Regions from separate parts of the Homo sapiens genome. Here all the other regions are linked to region 1. Evidence: promoter capture Hi-C in human tissues and cell types (Jung and others, 2019). All regions are on one chromosome and are shown on one strand. Each heading gives the region's core, a stretch centred on a gene start or on the middle of the fragment in contact. The rest is flanking DNA. Distances are from core to core; before and after follow the strand shown.

Region 1 (4,320 bases), core at 1,213-3,712:
GGGGTCTCACTTTGTTGCCCAGGCAGGTCTCAAACTCCTGGGCTCAAGCAATCCTCTTGCCTCTGCCTCTCAAAGTGCTAAGATTAGGCTGGGTGCAGTGGCTCACGCTTGTAATCTCAGCACTTTTCGGAGGCCAAGGAGGATGGATCACTTGAGGTCAGGAGTTCGAGATAAGCCTGGCCAACATGGTGAAACCTTGTCTCTACTAAAAATACAAAAATTAGCCAGGCATGGTGGCGGGCACCTGTAGTACCAGCTGCTCGGGAGGCTGAGGCAGGAGAATCACCTCAACCTGGGAGGTGGAGGTTGCAATGAGCCAAGATCACGCCATTGCACTCCAGCCTGAGCAACAGAGACTCTGTCTCAACAAATTAAAAAAAAAAATAAATAAAGTGCCCAGATTATAGGTGTGAGCTACCCTGCTCAGCCTAAAGTATTTTTTAATCAAGGTATGTAAGTTGTTTTTTAAGACATAATGGTATTGCACACTTACTAGACTATGGTATAATGTAAAAATAACTTTTTTGCCCCATAGGATCTGCAGGAAAACATACTTTTACATGCAACGGAAAACCAAAAAAAAAATAATTGTGTGACTTGCTTTACTGCAGTGGTCTGTAACTGAACCCACAAGAGCTCCAAGGTATCCCCAGATCTAGAATCCAACTACTTCTCACCATCCCTTGGGCTTCACCCTGGTCCAAGTCTCCAATATCTCTTGTTTAGAAAAGTAACTACAATAGCTTCCTAACCGGTTTCCCTTTCAGTCAGTTCTCACCAACAGACACATTAATCCTCTTAAAACGTAAATCAGGTCATGTCAATCCGCTGTACTACCCACCTCACAACAGTAAAAGTCAAAGTCCCACGATCTACAAAGACATACCAGGTCTTACCCTCCTCCCCCATCTTCTACAATTATACTCCAGACTCAGTCCTCTGTAGCCACACTGGTTCCCATTCTGATGTATAGCTTCTAAGCCTCAAGACCTTTGCACTTGCAGTTCCTTCTGCCCGTACCCCTATTCTCCCAGTTGTATGCATGGCTGTGATCTCTCACCTCCCTAAAGTCTTCGCTCATATGTCACCTTCCTTATGACTAACAATGACATTTAAAACTGCACTACCTGGCCCGGCGTGGTGGCTCATGCCTGTAATCCCAACACTTTGGGAGGCTGAGGCGGGCGGATGCCTGAGCTCAGGAGTTAGAGACAGGCCTGTCCAACACGGGGCAACCCCCTTTCTACTAAAAATATAAAAAATTAGCCGGGTGTGGTGGCGTGGGCCTGTAGTCCCAGCTACTCAGGAGTTTGAGGCATGAGAATTGCTTGAACTCGGGAGGCAGAGGTTGCAGTGAGCCTCTCTGCAGAGACTGCATAGGCTGGAGTGAAGTAGATCGCGCTACTCTTCACTCCAGCCTGGGCGACAGAGCGACACTCTGTCTCCAAAAAAAAAGAAAAAAAGAAAATCCTGCACTACTTACCATTCTTCTTTGTTTTATCTCTCTCCATGCCACTCAACCTTCTAATGCACAATATTTTATTTTGCTTATTGTCTGTCTTCCTACACAAGAGAGATAATATTAAGCTCCATAATATTTTTTGTATGTTCTGCTCACTGCTATATACCCAGATTCTGGTACATAGTCGGAATTCAATAAATAACTGCTAAATGGAATTAACAGTCAACAGGAAAACATTCTAGTCAGACATATTTTGAGAACAAAGGATTTACAATATTATATAAACTTAGTTGATAAAGCAGCCTCGACTTCCTGGGTTCAAGGAATCCTCCTGCCTCAGCCTCCCATGCATCTGCGACCACAGGCATGCCACCATGCCTGGCTAATTTTATTTTTTTTGTAGAGACGGGGGTCTCACTTTGCTTTGAGATGCTAATGACCAGACTCCAAGAGTGCAGAGGCAAGGCAGAGTAGAGAGAGGAAGCAGAGAAAGGGGAGAGGAAAGAACGGGGGAAAAAGGTAAAGGGGTCGACTCACGTGGAAAAATAGCCTACCTGCAGGGTTGAAGGACTTCTGATGCCGAGGAAACCTATCAGAAGACTGTCTCCAATACCACGATGTGGAAGCATGGAAATTCCAAGGCTGGCCGCTGGGTTGAGGCTGAGAATCAAGGGGAGACTGGGCGTCGAAGGGGGGTTGCGCCCCGGGAAGAATCTGGGCGTCGAAGGGGGGCGGAGCCCCGGGGAGAGACTGGGCCTCCATGGGGGGCTGCGACTCAGAGGAAGGCTTTGACCCGGCTGCGGGAAGCGAGGACGTAAGTGGTGGTGGCGGTGGCGGCAGCATTGCCCAGAACATCCAGCTGTCCCGCGGCGGGGCAGTGTCGCTCAGGGGCCCTAACGTGGGAGTCAGCTCGGGAGACGCATGCCACCCGATAGGAGTCTCGAAATCACTAGTCGGCTCAGCCATACCACTGGCGGGTCCGGAGTCTAGCACGCGACTGTGGAGCAAGCATTAGGCGTCACTTCCTTTACCGTGAACTACAAGGCTCAGCCAACCACAGGCTTTACGTCATTTCTCGGCGCCGGGAAACCTGCCATTCTTCGCTGCTGATCGCGGGATTCTTTTTGGATAGGGTTGACGTTCGTGGATAGACTCATATCTGTGACCAGTGTCCGCCACCGCGGATGGCAAGAGACCTGATCGGACCGGCCCTGCCGCCCGGCTTCAAGGCCCGCGGAACAGCGGAGGACGAAGAGCGGGACCCGAGCCCTGGTAAGCGGCGGCGTCTCCGCTGCCCACCAGGCCCATCTACCCACTCCCTGGCCGGGCCCTGCTCGCTGAAGAAAGTCGGAGGCCTAGGAGGGCGGAGGAGTGGGGAGTGGGCGCGGCCTGACCCGAGAGAACTTTTCTCTTCCCAAACAGTAGCAGGGGGGAGGAGGCTGGGGGACCCTCCTAGAAACGAGCTTTGGCGTGGTTTGGCTTCGTGATGATAATACATTCTCATTTAGCCTTAATATGAGCTGCACGCTGCCCTAACTGACTGATACCCACTCAGTCATTTAAGCCGTATAAGAAAAAAACTATTTTCCCATGTTGCAAATGGGTACGCCCAAGCCCATGCCAGTGTCTAGATCATACTGCTAGCAAGTGATGGAGCGCGACTTAGAAGGAAGCGGTTCTCTTAACCTCTGTGCCATATTGCCTTCTGATTACAAGAACCTTGCAGATCCTGTTCTCTCCAGCCCCCGACCTGCCTTCCTAGCCTCTCATTCTGTTATTGCATCTGACAAACACAGCCCAATACTCAATCCAGTCTGAGTTGCTGCGCAATTCCTTAACGCTCTAGGCTTCTGGGCTTCCTCTGGTTGCATTCCTAAACATAACTGACAAACTTCTCCCCATCCTTCAAGGCCCAACTTAAATGTCACACCAATAAAACCTTTCCAGATTCCCCGAAGCATTGTCATGCCTTTCTTTTTGCCCTCGGGTTTTTTCCTAATTACATTGCATATTTAGTACACTGTATTTGAATAATTTGTCGACATAATCTGTCTCCACCATTGCACTATGGTCTTCTACCTGAACACGCAACAGGCACTTGGTATATACGAAACGAATGCTTCTCGGATTCCGGCATGCATACCTATCTGCTTTAATGTTTATTCACATTTGTAGACTAGCACCGACACCCAGTTGGAGAAGAGTAAAGCTGAAAGAGTAACCCTGCCATTTCTGAATCTAATTTTTCTTCCTGGTCTACCCGGAGGCTATGTTTCTACTACAGGCCCCTTTCCAATATAATTTCTGTCATAACCACTTTAAAAATTATGCCTTCCAGCTGAGCGAGGTGGCACAAGCCTGTAATCTCAGCACTTTGAGAGGCTGAGACGGGGCGGATCACTTGAACTCAGGAGTTCAAGACCAGCCTGGCCAACATGTTGAAACCCCATCTCTACTAAAAATACAAAAATTAGCCGGGCGTGGTGGCGGGCGCCTGTAATCCCAGCTGCTCTGGAGGCTGAGGCAGGAGAATCGCTTGAACCCAGGAGGCGGAGGTTGCAGTGAGCCGAGAGTGCCACTGCGCTCCAGCCTGGGCGACGGAACGAGAGTTTGTCTCAATAAATAAATAAATAAAAGTAAATGTGAAAAATTATGCTTTCCTTCCTGTAGGAGATAGCTTTAAAAAAATAAAATAAGGCCAGGTGCGGTGGCTCACGCCTGTGAACCCAGCGCTTTGGGAGGCCGAGGCGGGCGGATCACGAGGTCGAGAGATCGAGACCATTCTGGCCAACATGGTGAAACCCTGTCTCTACTAAAAATACAAAAATTAGCCAGGCATGGTGGCACGTACCTGTAGT
Region 2 (4,320 bases), core at 567-3,066, 1.7 Mb before region 1:
ATCCTAATAATTTCTGACTTAATATAACTTCTCAGTATATTAAAAATTCAGAAATTGGAAAGGGAAACTTTTTATTTCTCTCTCTTCTCTTTCTTTCTTTCTGGAATACTGTACTAAATTAAAGAGTTTTGAAAAAATGTGTCATCAAGCTTCCATAATAAAATTTACCTTATGAGACTGCACAATGAATCCACTATCCAAATAAGTATAAGGATTAAAAAAAAAAAAAGTACAGTGTGCATCTTTCGGTAGGAATTCCTAAGGAGTGCACCGAGTGCCAATAAATGGAATATGTAAGAGACACCCCATGTGGATTACCAATTTCCGATAATAAAAAAAGAATAGAATTAGACACCTTAAATGTCAACCGGACTGAATGTGATTAAATATTTTGTTGGTGATTTTAAAGGCACTGCTGAATCTAGTGGTGCCTCTGGATTACCATCAATTAATTCACCAGCCACCCATTTATGTATTTATTAAGAAAACATGGTGAGGAGCTGTAGCATTCACAAGAAGCTTAAGGCCAGCACAGTCACCCATTTCTAGTTACTCAGTAATTTAGAAAAATTCTGAATACTGGAATTTTCTGATTGGATCAAAAATGAAATAATAAAATTGGAAAAATTTTGCTAGGCAAGATTGTTATACTTCAAAACTTAGCACTAGACTAAAAAATGACCAAAGTGACACTAATGTATGAAAATCAATCCAAAGGTTGAACGGCACTGCTGAAGAAAAGGCTTAAAGGTATTGCGGCATCTTGTTATATTCTTTACTAGATTCTATATAAACCATTATTCTTTATATTAATTATGGTCAAAGTGACCTCCTCTTCTGTCTCCTGTCTTACTGTGTTTCCATGGGAACAGATAATGCCATGCTTAACTTCTTTAAGTAAATAATCTGGAGAAAGCCTTGAAATCTCTTTTACCAGCCTGAGCCAGCCTCAGAAAAATAGTTAGCAATATATGAAAAATGTAAGTTGTTTTGGGTTATGTCCCAGTAAGCTGACAGTCTGTTAATATCTTTTTCATGCTCAGGCAAGATGTAACTAAATAATAAAACATTTTAACATATCGTTTCTAACAATATCTGTGTTTCTCCAGAACTCTTAGTCTTTGTGTGTTTGGGGAACTCTGTGTTTAACATTCCCCCTCCACTTTGCCAGATGTCCTCCTGAAATGCTGGAAGGACGCTGCTGAACTGTAGATTTCCTTCCCACATGCAAAGAAAGTCTTTTTCAAGAATTTCATTGGCTGCTACCCAGGAAGGCAGTTGTACCGATAGCCCCTGAACACAGGAGGGCAGAGGCAGGCTGGCCTGGCAAATGTCACCACAATATCTGTGTGCCTTCAACGGCTGCCTCCTCAGCCACGATCCTGCCTCCTGCTCCACTAGGAAAGGGAGCTGTAGTTATGGCCCAGTGACAGGGACTCTCTCCAGCTTCTATCTGCTTCTCTGCATTCTGAATCTTCTTGTGAGGTGCCTTGAGGCCTTTAGAAGCTATTCTGTGGCAGAGACATTATCACGCTGTGTACTCAAACTCATGCTTCTCTTTGTATAGAGCAGTGTTGCTCCTGAGAGGTGACTGCCCTAGAGGGTGCCATGTGAGCAGTCTCATCAATGGAGTGTGAGGGGGAGTGAGGATGCCTTCTGCACAGTCCCTCAGTCTCTGCCTGCTGCTGGAATAGGCTTGGGTCTCTGAGTCACCACATGGAGGAAAGGTGCCCACAGGCCCAGAATATCTGCCTTGGACTGTTGTGTGCCCAAAAAGTAACACTTTTTTTTTTGGTTAGGCCATCTTTATACAGCAGCTGGTGTTACTCTAACCCAGTGTTCTCCAAACATTGGCCTGCATTACAAGCTCCTGGCGGGCATATTAAAACACACTTTTCTGGGCCCTACCCTCAGTTTCCAGTTCAGTTTGTCTGGGAGGAAGCCCAAGAATTAGCATTCTTCCAAGTCCCCCAGGTGGTGCTGATGCTGCTGGTGCAGAGACCACACTTTGAGAGCCACTGCTCAGACCGCTGCTCATTCTATCCCGATTCCTAAACTGGGGTTGTGGTTGGCTTGTTTGGAGAAATGCTTCTGAAAGAACCACATGCTTGGCTTGTCATTCTGGTTTTATTCCTTGATCTCCTTTTGTATGAGCCCCGACTCCATGTTCTGCACCTGGGAAGGCAGCCCTGTTGCATCCCTGTGCCCAGGTCCCATGAGCTCAGCTTGCCCCGTGCCCTGGCTATCTCCTATGGAAGATTTGGGCAAAAGGCACAGTCACTATTCTGCTTTCTTCAAATAACAGTAGCAGTAATGGGAATAGCAACAGTGGTAGTGACAGCTAATGATTTTTATGTGCCAGGCACTGAGGTAAGCATATTCTTTACACAGTATCCTTTCACCATCATGAAAACATGATACAGTCAATATGATTATTATTTCTATTTTCCAGATGATGGAAGTGAGTTTATGGGAGACAGAGGTTGCTGGTTGGAGGTAAAAGGTGTGGCTCTAGGACTATATTCCTCCATGTAATGCCACCAGGCTAGCTTAGCTCCATGTAAGTGCCGCCCATCCCAGAGAAAGGAGTAAACCAGGGACCCTACTGTAGTGGCTAGTTTGCTCCTAACAGAAGTAAAACATTCAATTTCTGGCTCTATCTGGGGAGTGTTCTGCTGGAGAGAGACTCTGCTATGAAAGCAGAGAGGATGATCCTGTTTTAAAATAAACATGCAGGTATTTTCTGCAGGACAAACTTGGGGATGATTTATGGAGAAGTTAAACTCACTCTTCAGGAAATCTTGAGGCCTGGCTGGAACCACTTAGGGATCCTACTTTCTGCCCTGTGTCCCTCTCCTCTCAAACGGCCACACTGATACCCACTAATCCCAGAGCTCAAGAGCCTGAGTTGCTAATAATGCTTTATTGAGAGAGTTTTGTCCATAGACCCATGCTGATCTCAGGATTCCCAAAGATCCAGTATGAGACTATTCACCCCATCCATCTGAACTCACCTATGTTTGATTTTTAAGGTGTCTGTGCCTTCAGTTAGAATAAAGGTGACAGAAACTCCTCTGCGTTATGCTGACCTCCCATGAACTCTGTCCCCTGAGTCTACTTTGCTTGGGCTAATGAAGGCCAAAGACAAGGACCAGTACCATGTCAGAAGATTAACAGAGGCTTGGGGTCCTTCATCATTGGTAGCCTCATTCTCAGTGGCTGCTGTTGCCATCAGTGCCTCCCAGTGGCCAGGCACAGAGCTGGAAAGTATCCTAGGATGACATCTGCCAACAGCCAGTCTCCTGCTGGAGAGCCTCTTATGGTACCAACAAAGTACAATTGATCTGCTTTTCAATAATACCTGTATCACCACTGATCAATCTTCCTCAAATTGCTCACGGAAATTTCTTCTGCTACATTTTTGCAGGATTATTATTATTACAACTTAGCATTGACATAACATTTCATATGTGCAGTGTGTATTCGAATCTGCACATTAGCTATTATTAGGGAAAGCTAAACAGAAGCACAATGCAGTGTCTATTTCCATCTTTGTGTGAGGCCAGCGGAATAAGGGTAATTTCGGGAGTGCAGGGTAAGCTAGATCCTGTTACGATGATGGCTTAAATGTGAGTCTGGAGGCACAATGGGCAGCAGGTGACTCAGGAAAAAAAAATTCTCTGCTCCTTCCTCCAGAGAGCTCTTCCTGAGGAAGTACTCTGCACCAGCAGCAGAACTAGGAGGTGCTGCTGGGCTGCTGCCACTATGGAGACTTCACATCATGCCTCATCACTTTTCCATTTACATTACTATCCTCTGCTCCGACCCAAAACCATCCCCATTTTCCTCAGAGGAAAATAAGCAAAGGAAAGAGACATGTTCACTTCTTGCAAAAGCAGGATAAGTCTGTCATTTAAAACACTGTTGAAGGATGCTCTGTCAGGTGAGGATGCCTTTAGAGTCCTCCGGGAAACACATCAGAAGTGAACGCTGCAAGCATGAGCTGAGCTCCCTACTCTAAGCCAAGCCGGGGACAGGGCAGGGAAGCAGAGCTCTCAGCCCCTGCCCAGCCTGGCCTGCGCAGCTCCCAGCCCAGCCGCAGGAAGAGCTACAGATATGGAACCTGGTAGAAACTGGTTAGAAGGGCTCCAGGAGGGGCCATCCTCACACTGTGTAGTGGGAGTCAAATAAGGGAGAGAAGGCTTCTGGCTGGAACATAAGAGCTGGGGGAGGCTCTTTATGGAAGGCAGTGGTTGAGCTCACACATTGAAAAGCTGAAGGAAAGCAGAGTGGGACTGCTGCACAGTGGACACTGCTTTA
Region 3 (4,320 bases), core at 1,335-3,834, 1.2 Mb after region 1:
GTTCAGGGAAGTTATCGATTTAAAAAAAAATTTGTGACAGGATGTTGTTTTCAGTAGATTTCTTTTTTATATTTTCATATTATTCTATAGTGCTGTATTTGTTCTTGATGGCCACCAACAACCACACCAAACAGAAAACAGTCTTAATTAACATCAAAACCTGTAGGCCAAAAATGCATTACACTCAATTTTGCAAATCCATATCCATTATCCAACAAATTACCATCCTGCCACATACATATATCAGTGGTTTCAAACTTTTGTTCCACCAAGCAACCCTTTGTTGACAGAAACCTTACATGTAAACCTTACATGTAAGCAAACAAATAAAAATAACAACTCTGAGAGTCTTTGGTTGAAAAAACCCAAATGTACCCCTGCCCCTGCTATCTTATCTCCTTGTCACCTTCATCTGTGGGAACTCCAGGGAGCATGATTTGAAAATCATAGAATTATATATGTCTTCATTTAAATTTAAATGTATTCATTAAAAATATATTTTTGATATCAATAAAAATTTTATTTTATTATTGTCTTACATATCTAAGAAAGTATTGGTACATTGGATCTTTTAAAGGATGACAGAAACTGTCGAGGGGTTAATTGTATTAAAAATACAATCTCACTAACACATCACAATAACCCTAAGAGACAGGCACTGGCTATCTGGCTTTCTTGTCATCTCTCTCTCTCCCTCCCTCTCGTCCTTTTTTCTTTCCTTCTTCCTTCCTTGTTTCCTACCTTCCTTCCTTCCTCTCTTTCTTTTTCAGAATGCCTTTTTCCAAAAATAATTTGAGCTAAGTTACAAAGATATATCCAAACCCAAGAGTTAAACCAACTAAATGATGTAATTGATAAGAAAGAAAGCGTAACTGAAATAAGATGATGGTCGGGAGGAACTCTAATACTTAAAATACATGCCTAAGACCCCGCATGTTTTGCTACAAGTAGGCTGAAAATCTATCTCCAAGTTCTCTAGAAGCTAAGGCAAAAAGGAAAGTATCATCGGTTATACAATTCACTATCTATGAGACAAACCAATTTTCTTAGGGCAGCAGATCTGATGTCTGACAGCAAAATCTTCACACAGGCTTTAAGAAGAGGCCATTTGTGGGATGGGGTAAACACAGGTTTTGTGTTTCTTACAATGTCCTTCAATATAGGCTGATGGCATAGGTATGTATATTCTCATTGTATAGATCAGAAAACAGTATCTCAGAGAAGTTAAGATACAGATCTCAAATCACTCAGCTGGGTGGAGAAGCAGCCAAAACTCCAATCCCCAAGTCTTTTCTCCTCTCCCAGGCTGTCTACTCGGGTTCTCTGCCTTCATGTTCCTGTTAGACACACATCCCATCCATCCATTTATTCACTAAACAATGAGTTCTCCCTCTCCCTCCCCCTCCCCCTCCCTCCCCCTCCCCCTCCCTCTCCCGTCTCCCTCAACCCACGGTCTCCCTCTCCCTCTCTTTCCACGTTCTCCCTCTGATGCCGAGCAGAAGCTGGACTGTACTGCTGCCGTATGGGCTCACTGCAACCTCCCTGCCTGATTCTCCTGCCTCAGCCTGCCAAGTGCCTGCGATTGCAGGCGCGCGCCTCCAGGCCTGACTCGTTTTCGTATTTTTTTGGTGGAGACGGGGTTTCGCTGTGTTGGCCGGGCTGGTCTCCAGCTCCTAACCGTGAGTGATCTGCCAGCCTCGGCCTCCGGAGGTGCTGGGATTGCAGGCGGAGTCTCGTTCACTCAGTGCTCAATGTTGCCCAGGCTGGAGTGCAGTGGCGTGATCTCGGCTAGCTACAACCTCCACCTCCCAGCCGCCTGCCTTGGCCTCCCAAAGTGCCGAGATTGCAGCCTCTGCCCAGCCGCCACCCCTTCCGGGAAGTGAGGAGCGTCTCTGCCTGGCCGCCCATCGTCTGAGATGTGGGGAGCGCCTCTGCCCCGCCGCCCCGTCTGGGATGTGAGGAGCGCCTCTGCCCGGCCGCGACCCCGTCTGGGAGGTGAGGAGCGTCTCTGCACGGCTGCCCCGTCTGAGAAGTGAGGAGCCCCTCCGCCCGGCAGCCGCCCTGTCTGAAAAGTGAGGCGCCCCTCCGCCTGGCAGCCACCCCGTCTGGGAAGTGAGGAGCGTCTCCAGCCGGCAGCCGCCCCGTCGGGGAGGGAGGTGGGGGGCAGCCCCCGCCCGGCCAGCCGCCCCGTCCGGGAGGGAGGTGGGGGGCGCCTCTGCCCTGCCGCCCCTTCTGAGAAGTGAGGAGCCCCTCTGCCCGGCCGCCACCCCGTCTGGGAGGTGTACCCAACAGCTCATTGAGAACGGGCCAGGATGACAATGGCGGTTTTGTGGAACAGAAAAGGGGGAAATGTGGGGAAAAGATAGAGAAATCAGATTGTTGCTGTGTCTGTGTAGAAAGAAGTAGACATAGGAGGCTCCATTTTGTTCTGTATTAAGAAAAATTCTTCTGCCTTGGGATGCTGTTAATCTATAACCTTACCCCCAACCCCGTGCTCTCTGAAACATGTGCTGTGTCCACTCAGGGTTAAATGGATTAAGGGCGGTGCCAGATGTGCTTTGTTAAACAGATGCTTGAAGGCAGCATGCTCGTTAAGAGTCATCACCACTCCCTAATCTCAAGTACCCAGGGACACAAACACTGCGGAAGGCCGCAGGGTCCTCTGCCTAGGAAAACCAGACACCTTTGTTCACTTGTTTATCTGCTGACCTTCCCTCCACTATTGTCCTGTGACCCTGCCAAATCCCCCTCTGCGAGAAACACCCAAGAATGATCAATTAAAAAAAAAAAAAAAAAAACAATGAGTTATTAAGTATATGGACTATGGATAGCCCCATGGGAGATTTTTAAAACTACAATATAGTGAGCTTGTCCAGTCATTCTAGTAGAAAGCTTTTGCTTTCCTGTGCTCAGAAATCAAGGCTTCTGTTTTAAGGAATTAGTATAGAACTTTGTATTAATATACTTTGCTAAATCCTTGTGACTAACTTGGCTTAGGTCTCTTCTATACCCTCTACCATATCCACATATGCATGAATAGAAGGCTCTCCAGCTCTCCGGCTGTCCAGCCCTTCATGTTTTTAAATGTCTTAAGACCTCTTGGTTCATAGGTGTTTATGGGATTATAAGATACATTCATTCATTTAACAAATATTTTATGAATGCCTACTATAAGCCAGGTGCTATTCTTCATTTTAGGTAAGCACGTCTATATTGACCCAGTTAGTTATCCTGAAAGCATGGAACAATGTCAAAGGTAAGGAGGACAAACAAGATCTCTGACTCTAAACCTGGCCTTATCCCTTGACACAAGAATGTTAGATTTTAGAGCGCTATCAGCAGCTAGCGATAAATATAAGTAGAAGCAGAGAACAAGACTACATTCTAAGTGTCACAAGTAGGGCCAATGAAGAAACAAAACAATTACAGTGTTGGGTAAAAAAAGAAAATCTAAAAAATATCTAAAGATCATGGTATAATGGGAAATTTTTTTTACCATAAAAATTGCAGTGGCCCATTCATTTAAAAGACATAGAAAGTACATGTATTTTAAAATCATATTATTTTTAAACCACAGCAGGTAGGTCAAGATGAAAAGCCTTGAGCATCTGTAACAATATTTTTCTACGAGATTTATGAGTGGAGAGGATAAACTCAGAGAAGTCAAACAGCAAGAACACCTTTAAATTTAAAAAATCCAAAATGCTTCAGTGATTTAACAGCAAATGCAAAAGAGAAGTGGATTAACTTAGTTTAAAAGGTAAAGTGGAGAAGGGATAATCAGCAACTGACATTGCTGTGATACTGTTTGTTGTTGTTGGGCAGAAACATGAATAGATATCTGGAGAGAGTCCCTTTTACCATCAGCATGAGCAGCATATCCTGGAAACACAACCTAACTTTTGGAGACAGAAGGAACCTCATAAATAATTTATTACAATGTCCTCATTTTATAAATAAGGAAACTGAAGTTCTAATGAGAAGAAATGTTTTATCCATGTACAAATTCTCAAGGCAATGCCAGGCTGGAGCTTGTAAATGCAGGTGCTGATGAGCAGAGCAGGAAAAGGATGGAGTTACCATTAAAAGGGCCCCTAAGGTCCATAACTGAGCAGAGACCTTTAAGTAATTAAACTGAATGTGCAAAGGGCAGTAATTTCACAAAGCAAAGCAGCAGGAAGAGGACATAATTAGTGTAAAAACAGGCAGACCAGATCATTTTTAAGAAAGACATTGAGCCAGGTGCAGTGGCTCATGCCTGTGATCCCAACATGTTGGGAGGCCGAGGTGCACGGATTGCTTTGAGCTTAGGTGTTCGAG
Region 4 (4,320 bases), core at 460-2,959, 1.1 Mb before region 1:
GTTCCTTCCAGCTATTTCAAACTATATAATATACTATTGTTAACTATAGTTATCCTACAGTGGTATAGAACACTAGAACTTATTCCTCTTAAAGTTTTGTTTTTAATCTAAGCACTGCTACTAACTGCACATAGGAAATATTGATTGCTATTTTATTAATAAGGGGAATTAAGTTTGTAAGTCAAATAAACATTAATGAAATACCTTTTTGAAAATACTATCAAACTAAAACTTACTGGGCCATTTATCCAACTGTAATTTTAAATTGTGAAAAATAGCACAGTGGCCAAATATGCTATACCCCAGTGCTTTATAAAACAAATAAGATGACCTTACCACTAGGAGGTGGTATTTCAACAAGTAGCTCTACTATTATTTCTTGGTATAAAGTTGAACTAATCTTTTTTTTTTTTGAAAAAAATCAACTTTATTTTTTCTAGGTTTAAAAAAATAGAACCAGCTATTAATTTTTGTTGAGAAAATGCATCTTTTGGTGTTCACATCTAAATTTCTGAAAAGGTGATCTGGTTACTAAAATCATCCCAAATACATTCATAAACCAGATCCACGTGTGACCAGCCCTTTACAAAAATTAATTACAGTTGCCACAGCCTTTACATTCATTCTTATCACACGTTACAACATGCAGATAACACAAAGAAAGGTCAACAAGCTGAAGTAAACATTACAGCATCAGGAAAATGAAAACCCATCTGTATAAAATAAATACAATTTTGTAATAACTGTAAAGAAAATGAAAGCACTTAATAAAAATAATGGCAGTTGAATGTATAACTGTCTCATCTCCCAATCATAAAATAAGTTACTGTAAAATGCATAGACTCCTTACACTTAAAGAATTTGTGCATCACAGTCATGTGAAGTTGAACTAATCTTAAACTCTGTATTTTCTTGTGGAATAAAAAGGGAGGGGAGGACGCATTTAAAGTTAGTGAATGTATTGCTCTTACTTTAGGTATAACGTGGTAGTTCAAGTAGATAAAAGCATTTAGGAACCCTCACCCACTTCTATCTCACTCCTACAGAATCTCTAGTAATTGCTTTTCTGTAAGTAGATTTTTGGGAGAAACTCAGAGAAGCTTATTCTATGTAACATGACAAAACAGAAATAATATCTATATATTCAGCAGCTGGAAGGAAAGATAACAGTGACATACGAGTTATATGCTTTTATATCTCAAAGTGGGATTTGATATTTATTTTTACTTGATTGTCCTAGAGTTATACTTCCAATGTATCCATCTTACTTTTTGTGTGAACTCTTAGAGAATGCTACCAATCTATGAAAGTTCAGCACTTTAAAGAAAGCATTACTCAGTTATTGTGTGTTATCGTGTTTGTATGCATGAGTCTTTGTGTATGTGCTAAATGGCAAATAAGAAATATGTGTGTTAAATATGACACATAGCCTTTTTGCCCTAGCTAATATAAATTAACACACACATAACACATTGGATGCAGTAGAATAATAGATTTCTCTCTATAGATTTTTTAATAAATTATGCAGTAAAGAATGGAAAGCATGGTCCATATGCTTACTGGATGTGTTTGTGTGAACCCTGATCTAGGGCACGTGCATTTCCATTGTAGGCAGTGTTTTTAAAGTTTACTTGTGATTTCAAAGATTGCCATAAGCAATGCATTGTTCTGTGCTAGGTCATTGCTTAATGAAGAAAAAAGAAATCTGCCAGTACTGCTTTTTCCAGATTAACACGTTTGGTTTGAAGTCACAGTGATTACATGTCAACTGTGTTGAGACAAACTTTTCATACTCTCCTTAGATGCATTTTTGTAGAGAAAGAAATGCTTACATCACATTCCCCATGTCCTTTTGCCAAGCGCCTGAGGTGAGCTATGTCTCTGCTGTATTTGGAGCAGACTTTTTGTTTTATTTAATTCTCAGAAGGTTGAGGTGTCCAGTTACTACATTTTGTTAAACAAAATTTCCAGCAGACACTATAGCTCAAAATACCACATTCCTTTCTAACCAAAAACAAAACAAAAGACAAAAAAGGGGAGTAAAGGGAGTACTCTCATTTCATGAGAAACATTTGTAGAAAAGAGATTTGTTCATGGTAACAATTGGGTTTTTAATACCCTTCATTTTCAGAATTCTGCATCACACGCTGCTTCAGTTTACATCTCACCATGCTTTCCTGTTCCTTACGTTTTTAAAGCTCATGTTTTAAGGTTGTATTTTCTTTCTTTTGTTGTTGTTTTGTTTTGTTTTGTTTTGTTTTTGAGACGGAGTCTCGCTCTGTTGTCCAGGCTGGAGTGCAGTGGCGCGGGCTCTCGGCTCACTGCAAGCTCCGCCTCCCGGGGTTCACGCCATTCTCCTGCCTCAGCCTCGCCAGTAGCTGGGACTACAGGCGCCCGCTACCACGCCCAGCTAATTTTTTGTATTTTTAGTAGAGACGGGGTTTCACTTGTAAGCCAGGATGGTCTCGATCTCCTGACCTCATGATACACCCCCCTCGGCCTCCCAAAGTGCTGGGATTACAGGCGTGAGCCACCGCTCCCGGCCAAGATTGTATTTTCTTATCCCTCCCATCAGCCTCGTTTTCATACTTGATATTTCATATTTACAAGGTACCTTCATTCCTTTGGTTTTCTACTTTTCAATACATATCCAGATTTGGCTAATAGAGTTATCTGTTTGACATATCCTGTGTCCCCTCAAATATATCCTCCAAACTTAACTCATCATCTTCTCTCCAAAACCTGCTCCCATCCTGTCTTCTGTCTCAGAGAATGAAATCATTATTCATGCAGTTGCCCAGCCAGAAACCCTGGAGTGTTTCTGAATGCCTCCCTTTCCGTCTCCCCTTCCCTTCCCACACTACTGACTGTATGTCTACCATGTGTTCCCATGTCTCTCAACTTTCACAGACATTCAGGTCATCATCTCTCACCTGTATCATTAGAGCAGCCTTCTGACTAGTCTTTCCTTATTGAATCCCTTCTTACAGTATCATTATTGATTGTTTTAAAATGCAAATCTGGTCATATTACATCTCTCAAAAAATTTTTATGGCTTTCCCACTGCCTCCAAGGTAAAGACCTACTCACTAAAATGTATAAGTGCTGTCATCCTCTTGCCCCTGCATACTTCTTTAATTTCTACCACTCCCCATGCTGTAGCCATTCTGTACTTTTTTCATTTCCTAGAGTATGCCATTAAGCTAGGCCAGACCAAATAGGTTGGTTGGCATTCAAAGACTGACTAGAACTCAGATTTTTGTTTAGGATTATCTTCACTTAGGCTTTCTACTAAATTAGCAAATAGGAAGTAGCAAGGACATCTACAATATAAACATTTACGTAAATAATTACAACACTCTAGTGTCTCCCTAGTTTCTCATGGAGATATGGCCAAAATTCAGTTGTCAATGTCATATATATATATATGTGTGTGTGTATATATATATATGTATATATATGTGTATATATGTATATATATGTATGTGTATATGTGTGTGTGTGTGTATATATATATATGTATATATATATACACACACACACATATATATAGCGAGTACCATGCCAGATTGTACATGGAAGCTCAGTAGCTTTTGTTCCATGGGCAGTGTGAGGGGCCATACTAATGCTCAAAGGTCTACCTTCTACTGTATAAAGAAAGTTTTACTATATTGAAAAGCGTGCACAATATTTTTTTCTGTGTTATTGGGTCAACAGCAGTTCTCACCATGATCACCATCATCTTCCACAGCTATGTTTTCTCTTGCTTCTTGGCTTTGTACACATTGCTGGCTCTTCGTACACATTGCATACACACGGCATTTGTCAATGTCGCCTCTCTTGAATAACTCTTAACTATCCTTTAAGACTCAGATCTGGGGTCTTCTCTTCCAGAATATTTTCTTCGTTGTTTGCCTCATTAGCAACCATCCTGAGCATCATTTTTTATGGTCCTCAGTGAACTTATTTTTAAATGTTGGTCTGTTTAATTGTCTACTACTAAATATAGGCTCCATCAGAATAAGGAGCATATCTTACTTATCTTCATATTTTTAGTACCTAGCAAAGATATTATCACATTATAATAATCTAATATCTATAGGAGAAAAAAGGGAAAGAGGGAAGTGTATTATTCCTTTCTCACACTGCAATAAAGAACTACCTGAGGCTGGGCACGGTGGCTCACACCTGTAATCCCAGCACTTTGGGAGGCCGAGGCAGGCAGATCATGAGGTAAAGAGATCAAGAGCATCCTGGCCAACATGGTGAAACCCTGTCTTTACTAAAAATACAAAAATTAGCTGGGCATGGTGGTGCGCA
Region 5 (4,320 bases), core at 1,029-3,528, 1.1 Mb before region 1:
ATTATAGTAGTAGCTTCACTGAAATGTGGGGGGACTCTGATAGGAATCTTCAAGACAGAACAGGAGACGAAGAAATGGAGAGATGAATGTGCACTGTGTCTTTGAGGTCCACTGCTACAAAAGGAACAAGAAAAGAGGCAGTATCTACAAAGAGCTGTGAAACCAAAAGAGGCTTTCGTTGTTATTGTTGTTGTTCTTTTTTAAGATGGGAGAAATCACAGTATTTTTATGTGCAAAAACAAAGATGCAGGAAATAGGGAAAACTGGTGATACAAAACAGAGAGGGGTTATTGTACAGGCAAGACGCAGTGAGATTCAAAGATAGGACATTTCGAAAGAGGGCAAACTGATAGTCAATGGTAAATTAACCATTTTGGCAAGCATACATTTCATTTTTGGTCTATTTTGCTTTCTCATCAAGTTGTGGTTAATGACATGTATGAAATTTTTATAATAAGAAGAATATGATTGTGCAGAATTTTAGACAGTGGCCCTTCAGTGAAGTCATTGGTATTTTAATCAAAATGATTTGCAGGTTCTAATCCCAAAACAACTTGAAATTTCCAGCCCTTAGTGTATGGTAAATTATCCATCACATTACCGTAATTAGACCCATATAATTAAAACAATAGCAGCTTCTTTTATGTCTCTGTGGCACTTCTGCTAACGGGGCTTTAGTTCTCTCCAGTAAAGCCTCAGAGAAACCCAAATGGGAAAAGTATGACCCTATAAACAGAAAAGACAACCTTTACTATTTGGGTTTTTCTTTTTATAGTACCTCAATTCTGAGTTCCCAGGCATAAATATAGGTAGAAACTGACCTAAAGTCCAATCTACTTTTTAGAAAAATATGTATTCCACAAGATGCAAAATTTAGATAAAATAAATAAGAAACAAGATTTTCAGAACATCAGAGCTATAAAGAAAGATCACCCTCAGTGAGTATAAAACCTTAATTAAGACAGCTATGATAGATTCCTTTTAATGTAAAACCAGTGATTTTTACAGACATTAAAGATCACCTATTTCAACCACTTTATTTTATAGATGAATAAACTCAGTGCCCAAATGGTTAAATAACTAATACAAAGATGCTTAGGTGATTAGTGGCTATATTGGGTGGATTTTAAAATTAATTTTAAAAAACTGAAATAATAATATTTATTGAGTGTTTCCATATACCAGGCACTGTGCTGATCACATTACAGTCATACCCTCATTTAAAATTTACAGCAACTATATGAGGTGGATAATAGGAGATCTCTTCACCAGCTGCCACTGAATTGACTTACTAACTTCACCACTCGTCTCCACTTTCTTCTTCGTCAAACACACGGACTGATGCTGGTACTATGTTAAATGCTTGAGGCTGGTAAATTTATTTGAAAATTTCTTTTCACTTACCCAATCTGCAGTCTGTAGTCATAATCTACGTTGGCATCAGTATCACCTGGGTACTTGTTAAAAATGCAGATTCTCAAACCCCAACCAGACTTACTGGATCAAAAACTGGGGGTGGGGTTTAACAATTTATGTTCTCCATTCAAGAGATTCTGATGCATGCCAAAATAGAACACTACTTGAAAGGCTAATACAGGGGCCAAGCAGAAGCTCCTGGAGCTCCTTCCTCATGCTACCAAAAGAGTAAACCAAAAGCAATACTGCATCCTTGAAGCACCATAGAGATCATTGCCACCACTGAAAACTTAGAAGCTATGTACCTAGAAGCTATGTTTGTTTGGAGAAGTGATTCCTTTCATATTCAGATTTAACATACAAATTTGACTGGATTTTCATGAATGGCAATGGATTATTAAAACTCAACCAATGGTTACTTCAGTTAAGCTGCTGTTTCAGCTGTGGCCTTTTTTATTGAAACAAACTGACACCTCTCTTGGCATCTAACATGTAGTCATTAAATTAGCCCATTTTCCCACTATTCCAAAGAACAATCTTGTCTAAGGCTTATGTCAGCTCTTTGGCTCTGTGTCAAAATTAGGCCCACAAGGACCTTAACTGTCCTAACACCTCACAGAGCATCACATTAGTACACTACATCTGTGACATTTTACTGTTAAGATCTGCATAGCAGGGAGTAACAGATACCCTAGAAACCTTTAAGGCACATGCGTGGCAGTAGCTGGAGGAGAAAATCCATGAACATTTAGGTGCCTACCATGTCAGCGAAGTTTCTAGAGTCAGGTTGTTTTCATCATATTGGATTATTCTGTCCAGAGGCAAACACTGTGCGCCTTTGTGCCCCTACCACTGAGAAAGAGGCACAATGTTTAACAGGTGTCTTTGGATTTTTGAGGCAACATATACTACATTTGGTTGTTCTGCTCTGACTCATTTAGTCACTGACCAAAAATATTTCCAGCCTTGAATGGAGTCCAGAGCAAAAAGAAATCCATGGTTGTACAGACTTTAGTTATAAGAGGCTCTGGCTCTGCAATTTCAGCTTTTCTAAACCAGTGGATCATAGGTTCTTTTTTTTTTTTTTTTTTTTTTGAGACAAGAGTCTTACTCTGTTGCCCAGGCTGGAGTGCAGTCGCGCGATCTCGGCTCACTGCAAGCTCCGCCTCCCAGGTTCACGCCATTCTCCTGCCTCGGCCTCCTGAGTAACCACCACGCCCGGCTAACATTTTGTATTTTTAGCAGAGACGGGGTTTCGCCGTGTTAGCCAGGAAGGTCTCGATCTCCTGACCTCATGATCCGCCCGCCTCGGCCTCCCAAAGTGCTGGGATTACAGGCGTGAGCCACCGCACCCAGCTGGATCATAGGTTCTTTAAGTGTCTGTGGCAGATAAGGAATCTAAATGGAGCCTGCTCCTGCACCAAGTTCAACTAAGAGAATCACGGTGTGAGCCCGTAGGATCTTGGAGCAAGTCTATGACCTCTTTATCAAGTCACTGTTTTCCTTCTGAAAACAGTTTGTGGCTTGCTGCCAGGTCCTGATAGGAGTGAATACCTGACCATAGGTCTACAAATGACCTAAGCTTTCCAATATCAATTGATTGTTTGGATCTAGCTGATCATAAAGTTAAATGTGTCTAGAGATTCTCCATCAGCAAATAAAAATGCTGTATATGACATTGGGCCTGAGCAAAACCCAAAGGCAGTGTTAAGACGTTAATAGGACTTGTTTCCACTCCCATGAATAGAAGGCTGCTCATCACCATTTCTCCCTCAATTTGTACATATGGCCCCATGGGAGTTCCCTATATCATACTGCCTGCAGAGAAAAAAATTTGGTTCTGCCCAAAATGGCACCAGACATTCATAGGTGACATGAGAGGCAGTGGAGAAGGAAAATATTTCCACTAGATTAAACTTCAAATGAACTTGAACTTCTCATGGTGAACTTCACCTAGAAAAAAATACTTTGCTTGAGGAAGTTGCTCTCAGATTATCAATTTTAACCACTATACCATTGGAATCATAAGACATAAATAATAACACATTTATATTAGTAGGTAATCTACTAAGTTCAATGGAAAAATTGACCCAGCTTGAAAGTATAGTCCACTCTGAGAACTTATAGCATAGCAAATGGTGTACATTCTTTAATCAAACACCATCTGTTTTAATAAGCTACACCACAATTATGTTGTCTAGCAAACCACCCAAAACTGTGGTGTAGAGTAATGAGTATTTCTGGCTGACACATCTAAAAGTCAATTGAGGTTTGGCTGACCCAGCTTGGCTTTGGGAGGGCTTGGCACCAAATGTCTCTCATCCTCCTTGGACTACTTGCTGCACAAGACATGCTCTTCTCGTGGTGAAAGGCAGGAGTTCAAGAGAGCAAGCCCGGTTATGCAAGCTCAGTTCAAGCCTCTGCTCAGGTCATGGTCACTAGCATCCTATTAGCCAAAGCAAGGCATATGGGCAAGACTAAATTCCAGGGGTTAGGGAATATACTTTTCTCATCAAAGAGGAGGATAAAGGTGAATATTTGCAGAACAATTCTAATCTACCATACTACCTGAATTTAAAAATGGAATTTTTGTTTTTACAAAAATATTATTCAGTATGTTGTCAAAGGGCTGCACTAGTACAAATAGTTGATTCAACACAATTTCACAAATATTCATTGAATGTTTTTTATTTGTTGGGCACTATGTTAATTATCCAAAATTTAGGAATGGATAAGACATAGTCTCTGCCTTCAAGAATCTCACAGAAGGAACTGTAAACAAAATTTGATGTGATGAATGCAACAAAAGCCTTTACAATTCTCTGAGGTTGGTGTTGTGGCCATTTTACACAGAAGAAACTGATACTCAGAAAGATTAAATGATTTGTCCAATATTATACAACA

Evidence for each region. The method cuts DNA at HindIII sites, captures the fragments that hold promoters and counts their contacts. A contact is called where the count stands out against the background at its distance.
Region 2: a fragment that was not itself captured here is called in contact with the fragment with the promoter of NUFIP1 in region 1 in 1 of the 25 tissues and cell types used here (hippocampus).
Region 3: a fragment that was not itself captured here is called in contact with the fragment with the promoter of NUFIP1 in region 1 in 1 of the 25 tissues and cell types used here (dorsolateral prefrontal cortex).
Region 4: a fragment that was not itself captured here is called in contact with the fragment with the promoter of NUFIP1 in region 1 in 1 of the 25 tissues and cell types used here (dorsolateral prefrontal cortex).
Region 5: a fragment that was not itself captured here is called in contact with the fragment with the promoter of NUFIP1 in region 1 in 1 of the 25 tissues and cell types used here (dorsolateral prefrontal cortex).

Annotation. Positions count from the first base shown.
Region 1 is chr13:44,987,009-44,991,328 of GRCh38, forward strand. NUFIP1 (nuclear FMR1 interacting protein 1) reads right to left here and starts at 2,463. Exons shown (of 10, transcript NM_012345.3): 1 at 2,017-2,463. The coding sequence starts at 2,428. It overlaps GPALPP1 (GPALPP motifs containing 1), which reads left to right and starts at 2,530. Exons shown (of 8, transcript NM_018559.5): 1 at 2,530-2,734. The coding sequence starts at 2,647. RefSeq lists enhancers at 2,001-2,639, 2,264-2,333, 2,524-2,713, 2,640-3,276. The HindIII fragment of the contact is 10,586 bases long and covers 1-4,320 here.
Region 2 is chr13:43,301,895-43,306,214 of GRCh38, forward strand. The region is part of intron 11 of ENOX1 (ecto-NOX disulfide-thiol exchanger 1); the gene reads right to left. Among named protein-coding and RNA genes, the nearest start is that of ENOX1-AS2, 140 kb to the right of the region's middle. RefSeq lists an enhancer at 1,383-1,612. The HindIII fragment of the contact is 5,794 bases long and covers 1-4,320 here.
Region 3 is chr13:46,160,855-46,165,174 of GRCh38, forward strand. All of the region lies in intron 1 of LCP1 (lymphocyte cytosolic protein 1), which reads right to left. Among named protein-coding and RNA genes, the nearest start is that of LCP1, 19 kb to the right of the region's middle. The HindIII fragment of the contact is 3,518 bases long and covers 826-4,320 here.
Region 4 is chr13:43,894,302-43,898,621 of GRCh38, forward strand. No RefSeq gene overlaps it. Among named protein-coding and RNA genes, the nearest start is that of LACC1, 17 kb to the left of the region's middle. The HindIII fragment of the contact is 3,971 bases long and covers 1-3,695 here.
Region 5 is chr13:43,913,282-43,917,601 of GRCh38, forward strand. No RefSeq gene overlaps it. Among named protein-coding and RNA genes, the nearest start is that of LACC1, 36 kb to the left of the region's middle. The HindIII fragment of the contact is 3,808 bases long and covers 375-4,182 here.